3 separate regions of the Homo sapiens genome follow, and all the other regions are linked to region 1. Evidence: promoter capture Hi-C in 16 types of primary human blood cells and fetal thymus (Javierre and others, 2016). All regions are on one chromosome and are shown on one strand. Each heading gives the region's core, a stretch centred on a gene start or on the middle of the fragment in contact. The rest is flanking DNA. Distances are from core to core; before and after follow the strand shown.

What was found. Contacts are between HindIII fragments. The CHiCAGO score rates a contact against its expected background, and 5 or more counts as called.
Region 2: the fragment with the promoter of CNN2 here is called in contact with the fragment with the promoter of MIDN in region 1 in 17 of 17 cell types (monocytes, M0 macrophages, neutrophils and 14 more); the score reaches 35.5 in monocytes.
Region 3: the fragment with the promoter of POLR2E here is called in contact with the fragment with the promoter of MIDN in region 1 in 15 of 17 cell types (monocytes, neutrophils, naive CD4 T cells and 12 more); the score reaches 15.7 in monocytes.

The regions. Positions count from the first base shown.
Region 1 is chr19:1,247,116-1,250,035 of GRCh38, reverse strand. MIDN (midnolin) reads right to left here and starts at 1,453. Exons shown (of 9, transcript NM_001388306.1): 1 at 1,376-1,453; 2 at 1-146. It overlaps LOC102723811 (a long non-coding RNA gene), which reads left to right and starts at 1,964. Exons shown (of 2, transcript XR_007067082.1): 1 at 1,964-2,023; 2 at 2,175-2,920. RefSeq lists silencers at 1-49, 230-699, 730-849, 910-1,369, 1,460-1,999 and an enhancer at 843-1,376. The HindIII fragment of the contact is 31,339 bases long and covers 1-2,920 here.
Region 2 is chr19:1,025,166-1,028,085 of GRCh38, reverse strand. It overlaps CNN2 (calponin 2), which reads right to left and starts at 1,478. Exons shown (of 7, transcript NM_004368.4): 1 at 1,362-1,478. The coding sequence starts at 1,424. RefSeq lists a silencer at 1,191-1,830 and an enhancer at 1,821-2,552. The HindIII fragment of the contact is 13,555 bases long and covers 1-2,920 here.
Region 3 is chr19:1,094,125-1,097,044 of GRCh38, reverse strand. It overlaps POLR2E (RNA polymerase II, I and III subunit E), which reads left to right and starts at 1,670. Exons shown (of 8, transcript NM_002695.5): 1 at 1,670-1,786. The coding sequence starts at 1,730. RefSeq lists enhancers at 1,637-1,726, 2,484-2,920. The HindIII fragment of the contact is 25,451 bases long and covers 1-2,920 here.

The DNA.
Region 1 (2,920 bases), core at 204-2,703:
CGGGCGCGACCGGGACGCGGCGCGGTTAAGGGTCCTGGGGAGGGGGCGCCGCTCGGCTGGTGGCGCTGGGTGCCGTCTGCCGCCCGGGTCGCGCTTCCTCGCGCGTCCCCTCCCTTAGCAACAGCCGTCGCCGCCGCTCGGAGGATCTGGGGGTGAAAGTAACAAGAAAAAAAAGTTATAATGTATCAACGTTCCAGGGGGCGGGGCCGCCGCCCCCTCCCATTCACTACTTACTCCGCCGGCCGGGCGCCGGCCAATCGCCGCGCGCCGAGCGCCCAGTCGGCCGCGAGCCCGGGCCTATGAGAGCCGCCGCGGCACCGCCCCACGTGGCAGCCGGGCCCGCCCCCTCGCCCCGCCCCCAGCGCCCAGGCGACCAAGGGGAGCGCAGCGGGGGCGGGGCTGGCGCCTCTCCGCGCCCGCCCCCGCCCCGCCCGCGCCCGCAGCCATTCATAAGCGCCCGGAGCCCGCAACAAAGGGCGGGCGCGCCCCGGGGGGCGCGGGACCCAGGTCTGGAGACGGGTCTGGTACCCCTCGCGATCCCAAGGGAGCGGCCGGGAGCGGGAGGGGGCGCGGGCCATTGTTCCCGGCGCCGGGAGGGGCAGGAAGTCGTGGGGCCACCCCGCCGCCTTCGTCCGGGAAAAGCCGCGAGCGGAAGCGGGAGCGCGAAGTCCGCGCCTCGTGGCCGGGGTCCCGGGGCGGGCGGGCGACGGTGAGGCTAGGGCCGCGGCCCCGGGGAGGGCGTGGTGCGTGGGGGCGGAGTTGTGGCCGGGGCGGGGCGCCCGCACCTCGGTGACGTGGCCGGGTGGCTGCCGCCGGGGGCCCCGCGCGCCCACCCGCCGGCCGCGGGCAGAACCCGTTTCCCCGAGGCGCGCCCGCTCGAGCCGTGACGTGACGCGGCGTCCCCGGCTGCGCCCGCGCGCGCTCGGGGATGCGGTGAGTCAGCAGCTCGGGCGCGCCCTCTGCCGGGCCCGCCTGGGAGCGCCGCCCGGAGTCCCGGGGAGGGGGCGCCGCGCTGCCCCTGGCAGGGGAGGAAGACGACTGGGCTGCGCGCGGGGGAGGAACCCCGATCGGGAACGAAAGACTGTAGTCGGGAGACTGGGACCGTGTGGCTGGGCAACGGAGGGCGGAACGGCAACCAGTTCAAGGTCACCCGCGGTGAAGGGGGAGTGCCCCGGGGGGCGGGGCGGGGGCTGAGGTCCGGCCAGGGCGGCGCTGGCTGCGCGGAGCCCCTCCCACCCCGCACCCCGGGGGGCTTCCCAGGACCGGAGGCTCCCCGATCCCTCCTGTCCCAAGAACAAAGAAAAGTGCGGGCATCCTGAGCCATCTAGAGTGGGCACCCTTCCTCGGCCCGCAGGTCCCCCCCCTCCACACTCACCGGGCGCGGCCGGTTCTGCGCTCCAAGTGCTGCGAGTACCTTCGTCCGGGGCCGAATGCGCGCTGGCCGGGCCGGTCTGGGCCAAGCGCGCGGCCCTCAGCCTTTATCCGCGCCGCCTTCCCTCGGGGTGGAGTTAGGGCGGGCAGGGGGGCGGGGGGCCGGGCGGGCGGTGACGCAGACTGGCCCCCGCCCCTGCCTGCCGGCCCTGGCCCTGGGGCGCCTTGACGGCTGGGCCACCCGGGACCCAGGCTTGGCGCAGTTCATGGGGGGACTCCCCTTGAATGCCCCGAGCCAAGGGTCTCGGCCCGCCTCGCCGCGGGCTGAGATGCACCCCGAATCGTCAGCGGGACAGGGTTTTGGGGTGTACAGCGCGACTCGCTGCCCCGCCCCCTTCCTGTCGCCCCAGGCCCGGTGCTTCCGCCTGGGGGCGCCCGCGTGGGGGGGACGGGAAGAGGGGCCTGAGTCAGCGGCTGTCGTCCAGGAAAACAGGCTGGAGTCACCTGCCGTAGAGTGGGGGTGCCCTGGCCAGCCCTGGCCTCCTGCATCTGTCAATGGTGACCTCAGAGGGCATTTATGGAGCGATTAGCCAGTGCCAGGCCTGCCTTGTGCCCAGCCAGTCACCAGCCGGCTATGCTGTGACCCCGGGAGGTAACTGGCCTCTCCAAGCCTCAGTTTCTCCAGGGTGGGTGGGAGTGTGGTGAGGGGATGCGGCAGGATCACTTTGGGGCCATCACCCCCCATTAATGCAGGACATGCACTGGTTCCCAGCCTTTGGGGTGGGCATTACCCCATTTTACAGATGAAGAAACTGAGGCCACAGCCAATGAGACACGAATGTGGTGTGCATCTCACCCTTCCCCGTCGGCTTTTTGAGGATGGTCCTGGTTGAGGTGGGCCCCGTCCTGCCCCTCTATTTAGAGAAGGGGACCCCATTCCTACGGGAGCACCTCCTGTCCACTCATCTGGCCCCTCCCTTTATCTGGCCTGACCACCTCCACCCCCACCCTGGCCATGGGCGCCCCTCCCAGGGCTGCGCTCCTCCCCAGGTCTCCTTCCGGCTGCCACCCATGCTCCCGGCAGCCGTGGCCCCCACCTTGACAGGCACACCCAGCCCCGAAGGGTCAGGGCTAGGCCAGAGAGGGAGAGGCTGGGATAACCCTTGGAAGGGGGTCACAGGGGCTGCGGTTTGAGGAATGACTAGGAGTTTGTCACATAAAAAAGATGATGCGGTCGGGCGCGGTGGCTCACGCCTGTAATCCCAGCACTTTGGGAGGCCGAGGCGGGCGGATCACAAGGTCAAGAGATTGAGACCAGCCTGGCCAACATGGTGAAACCCTGTCTCTACTAAAAATACAAAAATTAGCTGGGCATGGTGGCATGTGTCTGTAGTCCCAGCTACTCAGGAGGCTGAGGCAGGAGAATCGCTTGAACGCGGGAGGCGGAGGTTACAATAAACCCAGATCGTGCCAGGGCACTCCAGCCTGAGCGACAAAACGAGATTCCGTCTCAAAAAAAAAAAAAAAAAAAAAAAAGGCCGGGCGCGGT
Region 2 (2,920 bases), core at 229-2,728, 220 kb after region 1:
AGGGTGCGGCAGGGTGCCCACCCCACTGCACGGGGGGCTCTATGAATGCAGGGTGCAGATGGCCCCTTGAAGGAGGAGTCGTGAGCCCCGGGCTGGGGACCCTGGCTCAGGCCTTGACCACCCCAAGCCTCAGCCTCCCTTTTTGGCCAAGAGCTGGTCTGAAGGCTTGCAGGGGCTCACAGCGGGGAAGCAGGAATTCTCCCTCCAGTCTGCCGGCCCTGGAGTGCCGCCGGGCAGGTGGCTGTTGGGGCTGGCAGGGCCGGTGCCCTCAGAGCGTGCAGAGGCAGTTTCCCCTGCAGAAGTCAGCTGTAAGGACACCTTCCCAGGTGCCCAGTGGGCGTCGGGGGAGGGGGTGGGCGGGGACGACACCCCCCTCCAGCTGGAAGGTCCTGGAGGGTCAGGTCCCGGTCCTGTCCGTGGGTCTCGCATCACAACCCCCGCCCCCCACTTTCCCTGGGAATCCTGTCCAGGACCCTGCTGTGTGACCCTGCAGAAGTGTCTGGTCCTCTCTGAGCTAGAACCACAAGTGCTCTCTTAAAAAGTGTCTCCCCTAGCCCTGGCTTGTTTTTAATTATAGAGATGGGGTTTCGCCATGTTGCCCAGACTGGTCTCGAACTCGCTGGGCTCAAGCCATCCACCCAGCTCCGCCCCCCAAAGTGCTGGGATTACGGGCGTGAGCCCCCGCGCCCTGCCGGGCCCCAGCTCTTCTTTCGAGGCTGCAAAACCCCACATATCTCAGGGCCACCTTCAGAGAACCTCTTTGTTATCCGTTTAAATTAGTCAGATGGGAGACAAAGACCGTGCAAAGCGGCTACCGCCCCTCCCCCCAAGACACCCCCAAGGTGTCCCAGAGGCCAGGAAATTCCTGTTTGTGGGGGGGTAACACTTCTCAAAAACCACTCGGCCATGCCCCTTCCCCTCCCAAAGCTAAGAGGCCCCAAAAGCAGAAGTGTGGCCAGGAGATGACGGGGTTGCTGGGGTCCCCCCCAGACCCCCAGAGCGTTGTCGGACCTTGAACGGACCTTCTCGAAGGTTGAGTGGGCGCCAGGGGCTTCACACGTGGGGGTCCTGGGGCCATGGCGAGGGGACGAAGTCAGACCCAACTACCCCTAGATGTTGGGGGGGGGAATGGGTCACTCGTCCCCCAGATCTCAGACCTGGGTGCTCCCCAAGATTCGCGGGAGCCTCAGGGGGTGCCCGCAGACATCCCCCCACCAGGCGTCAGGGAGAACAAGGGCCCGTCCGCCCCGGGTCTCCAAGCTCCCTGCCCGGGAGGTGCCGGGGGCGCCTGGGGGCTCCTGCACCGGTCGGAGCGTGCGACGGCCGCGCTGTCGGGGGGACAAGGGGCGCCCCTCACTCACCCGGTTCTTGACCTCGGCCGACAGCCCGTACGAGGGGCCCTTGTTGAACTGCGTGGAGCTCATGGCTGGCGGGCGGGCGGCGGGACGGGGCCGCACAGGACGGGACGGGACGGGACCGCCGGGCTGGCGCGGGGTTGGGACGCGCCGGGCTCCGCGCGCCACGCCCCCGCCGCTGATTGGCCCGGAGCGCAAATGTCCTTATAAGGCCTGGAGGCGCCGAATTCCTGCGGCCGCGGACTTCCTGAGCCCCCTCGGTCGCCCCCGGACCCCCGCCTGGGCACAGCACCCCCGTCACCAGAGGCCTGGAGGGGCCCCTCGCCCCCTTTGATGCCACGGGAAACTGAGGCAGGGAGGGGCCGAGGCCGCCGGGACGTGGCACTCCTGCGGGCTCTCTGCTCAGAGCTCGTGGGCGGCTCTCACTCTTTCTCCATCTCAGACTTCTCTTCTGCCAGAAAGGGGAGGGGAGAAGGCTACCTTTGGGGCAGGAATGAGGGCCCCTCTCTGCCACTTAGAGGCGTCTAACCCCTTCCCAGGGAACTCTACTAGCTGGGAGGTGGACCAGGGAACCAGGGCAGGTTCCTCAGAGAAGGGGCCATTGGAGCTGGGGCTTTGTTGGATGAGTAGGAGTTTGTCAGTCCAAAAGAGAATAGGATTCTTACTGGGTGCGGTAGCTTGCACCTGGAGTTCTAGCTACTTGGGAGGCTGAGGCCGAAGGGGGAGGATCCGTTGAGCCCAAGAGGTCGAAGCTGCAGTGAGTTATCATCACAACATGACGCTCCAGCCTGGGCAGCAGAGCAAGAGCCTCTCTCTAAAAATAAATAAATAAATAAAAATAAAAATCCGAGTGGCTCACGCCTGCAATCCCAGCACTTTGGAAGGCCGAGGCGGGCGGATCACTTGAGGTCAGGAGTTCCAGACCAGCTTGGCTAACATGGCGAAACTCCGTCTCTACTAAAAATACAAAAATTAGCCGGGCATGGGGGCACATGCCTGTAATTCCAGCTACTGAGGAGGCTGAGGTGGGAGGATCACTTGAAGCCAGGAGGCGGAGGTTGTAGTAAGTCGAGATCGCGCCACTGCACTCCAGCCTGGGCGACAGAGCAAGACTCCGTCTTAAAAAAAAAAACAAAAAAAAAAAACACAAAAAAACCCTAATAATAATAAATTATTAAAAAGTCTCCGGGACAGTCTCCTGCCAGGCAGTGCTGGCTCTCAGGAGACCTTAGCTCTGGCCCAGCCCATGCCCAGGAAGACAGAGCTGGCACAGACCAACCCCCAACCCGGATTCCCTGTATGAGCCAGCACAGGCGGAACCCCCCCACCCCGCCCACCCTGTTTCCCTATATGAGCAAGTACAGGACAGAATGAGAGGCTTGGGGCTGGAGGAACTGGAGGGAGAGTTGGGGCTCTGTCGGAGGAATCAAGGAAAGCTGCATGTAAGAGGAGGCAAGGGAGATGGGGTTTTGAAGCATCAATAGGAGTTTGACACATTTTATTTTATTTTATTTTATTTTATTTTATTTTATTTTATTTTATTTTATTTTTAGTAGAGATGGGGT
Region 3 (2,920 bases), core at 421-2,920, 150 kb after region 1:
CGTGACTTACAACTAAAAATTACAAAACTACAACAAAGGGATCCTCCCCTCTCAGCTTCCCAAAGTGCTGGGATTACAGGTGTGAGCTATCGCGCCCAATGGGATTTTTTTTTTTTTTTCTCGATGGAGTCTTGCTCTGTCACCCAGGCTGGAGTGCAGTGGTGCGATCTCGGCTCACTGCAACCTCCGCCTCCCGGGTTCAAGTGATTCTCCTGCCTCAGCCTCCCGAGTAACTGGGAGTACAGGCACCCACCACCAAACCTGGCTAATTTTTGTATTTTTAGTAGAGACAGGGTTTCACCATGTTGGCCAAGCTGGTCTGGAACTCCTGATCTCATGCTCTGCCTGCCTCGGCCACCCAAAGTGCTGGGATTACAGTGATGAGCCACCACTGCTAATGGGATTTTTGCTTGAATCTATCCTCACTGTATTCCCTGACCTCCCCATGTGATACTGCAGTTCTCCCATTCTCCCCATGTCACTTAGCCTCCCTGCTCTTTCTTCTTCCGTAGCTTTGTCACTTTCTAACGTTGTTATTTATTTTATTTTATTTCATTTCATTTTATTTTTGAGACAGAGTCTTGCTCTGTTGTCCAGGCTGGAGTGCAGTGGCACGATCTTGGCTCACTGAAACCTCCACCTTACAGGTTCACGAGATTCTCCTGCCTTAGCCTCCTAAGTAGCTGAGACTACAGGCACCTGCCACCTGGCCCAGCTAATTTTTTGTATTTTTAGTAGAGACGGGGTTTCACCGTGTTAGCCAGGATGGTCTTGAACTCCTGATCTCATGCTCTGCCCGCCTCAGCCTCCCAAAGTGCTGGGATTATAGGCATGAGCCACCGCGCCCGGCCACGTTATTTATTATATTTTACTAAATCCTGTCTTTATCTGAATGCAAGGGATACTTGGCCTGTTTTATTCACCATCACTGTAGGTTGCTGAGTAAATGTTGAATTAACGAATGCATCACTGAATAAGTTACTGATAGCCTGCACACAGGAAGTGTTGGGCTGGGGTTCTCCGTGAACCTGGGGAAGTGAGGAGGTTTGCAAAGACAGGAAGAGTCTGGGGTGGGGAGATACCCAGGCTAGGCTGGGGAGATACCCAGGCTAGGCTGGTGGCGCTCAGGGGAGAGGACAGAGGTGAGGGGACTTAATAAGCACCTAGAGAGATGCCTAAGACTCTCAGTTAACCGTCTAAAGTAGGGACACTTTATTGCCATTGCACAGGTAGGGAAACTGAGGCCCAAGGGAATTAACCCTGACCTGGCCAGGAGCCAATGGAGGAAACCCTGTACAGTTTGATGCACAAATATTTATAGAGTTCCCACTAGGCTCCCAGACCATCCCTAGGAGCCGAGCTGCCCCTTGACCCCATCCAGGCCTCAGTTTCCCCGCTCACACTTCGCCCCCGCCTCGTGGGATTCTAAACTGTTGCTCCAAGGTGGGAGTTGAACGGAAACTACAACTCCCGAGAGGCTGTGCGGCCAAAGACACACGAGAACTACGGAGGCGAGAGACTCGCTCAGCCAACTGCCGCTCTCGTAAGGCTCGGGCTGCCCTTGGCGCTGCCGATCCGAGACGTTGCTGCATTCAGGCATTCGCCGACGACAGACCAGCGCGGGGCGGGGTTAGGCGGAGGGGGCCTGATTCGGATTCGGCGCAGGCGCAGTCCGCGCGGGTTCTCGCGCGGAGAAGGGGTGCGAGCGGCGGCGGCGGCGGAGGCTGCCATGGACGACGAGGAGGAGACGTACCGGCTCTGGAAAATCCGCAAGACCATCATGCAGGTGAGCCGCGCCTGGTGTTGGGGGCGGGGGCGCGGGCGGCGGGTGTAGGGGCCCGAGGTGGGGTCGAGCACGGCGTCTCCTCGTACTCTCGTCGGAGCAGCAGCGATGAAGGGCCGGGCCGATACGGGAGGCCCAGAGGTCGCCGGGGATACCAGGCGCTGGACCCGACCTGAGCCGGCAGCGGGGAAGGGAGGGGGTTTCGAGACGTCTGGGTGCGGTGCTTAGGGGTGGGTGGGCGGCTTGGGCTGGTGCGGCGCGCGTGGCGGCGAGAGGAGGAGGAAGCCGCGAATGGGGACGGGGGGCGCCCCCAGACTCTGCCCTTCTCTGTGATTCAGCGTCGCTATTTGTCCTTGCGTCCTGAACCCCATGGAGTCTTCAGCATCCGAGGCTGGCAGAGTTGGTGGTTGGGAAGCAGCGGGCGAGCTGGGGCTTTCGATGGGGACGTGGAGCTCGGAACCCGTGCCTTGGGGTCTGGGGCAGATGGAGGCCACTGGGTCGAGTCCGGTTTGGAAGCCGGGCACAGGCCTGAGGACCTGCGGTTCAGGGTATTGCCTCAGCCATTGGGGCCGTTTGAGAGCTTTTGCTTTGTCTTGCTTCCCACCCTTTGCCCTTGTCCTCAGCGAAGCCCCCCGCAGCCTGATTCTTCTTTCTCCGATCCTCAAACATTGTCAGCCTGAAGTCACATCTGTTTCGGTCCCTGTCATTTTTTTTTTTTAAGAGATAGGGTTTCATTCTGTCGCCCAGGCTGCAGTGCAGTGGTGCAATCATAGCTCACTGCATCCTTGAACTGGCCTCCAGCAACCCTCCTGCCTCAGCCTCCCTAAGTACTGGGATCACGGGCGTGAGCCTCCGCGCCCCGCCTTTGTCCCTGCCTTTAGGGTAGCTCTGCAAAGTGGTTTGGAGGGCTTTGCTCCCTGCCAGGTTTCTGTGAGGCTGGGTGGACAGACGGTCTTGGTCAAGGCTGGACATCTCTGGGAGCCTCTCAGGATCATACTGGTCCCATCCTGTGGTGTGAGGCTGTGGGGGCCGGGGTGGCTGTCATGGAGCACACAGTGAGTGTTCATCCCGTTTGCTGTTCACCTCTGTCCTCTGCAGCAGCCGCAGGTCTGACTTCCGGGTCACGAGCTTTGGCCG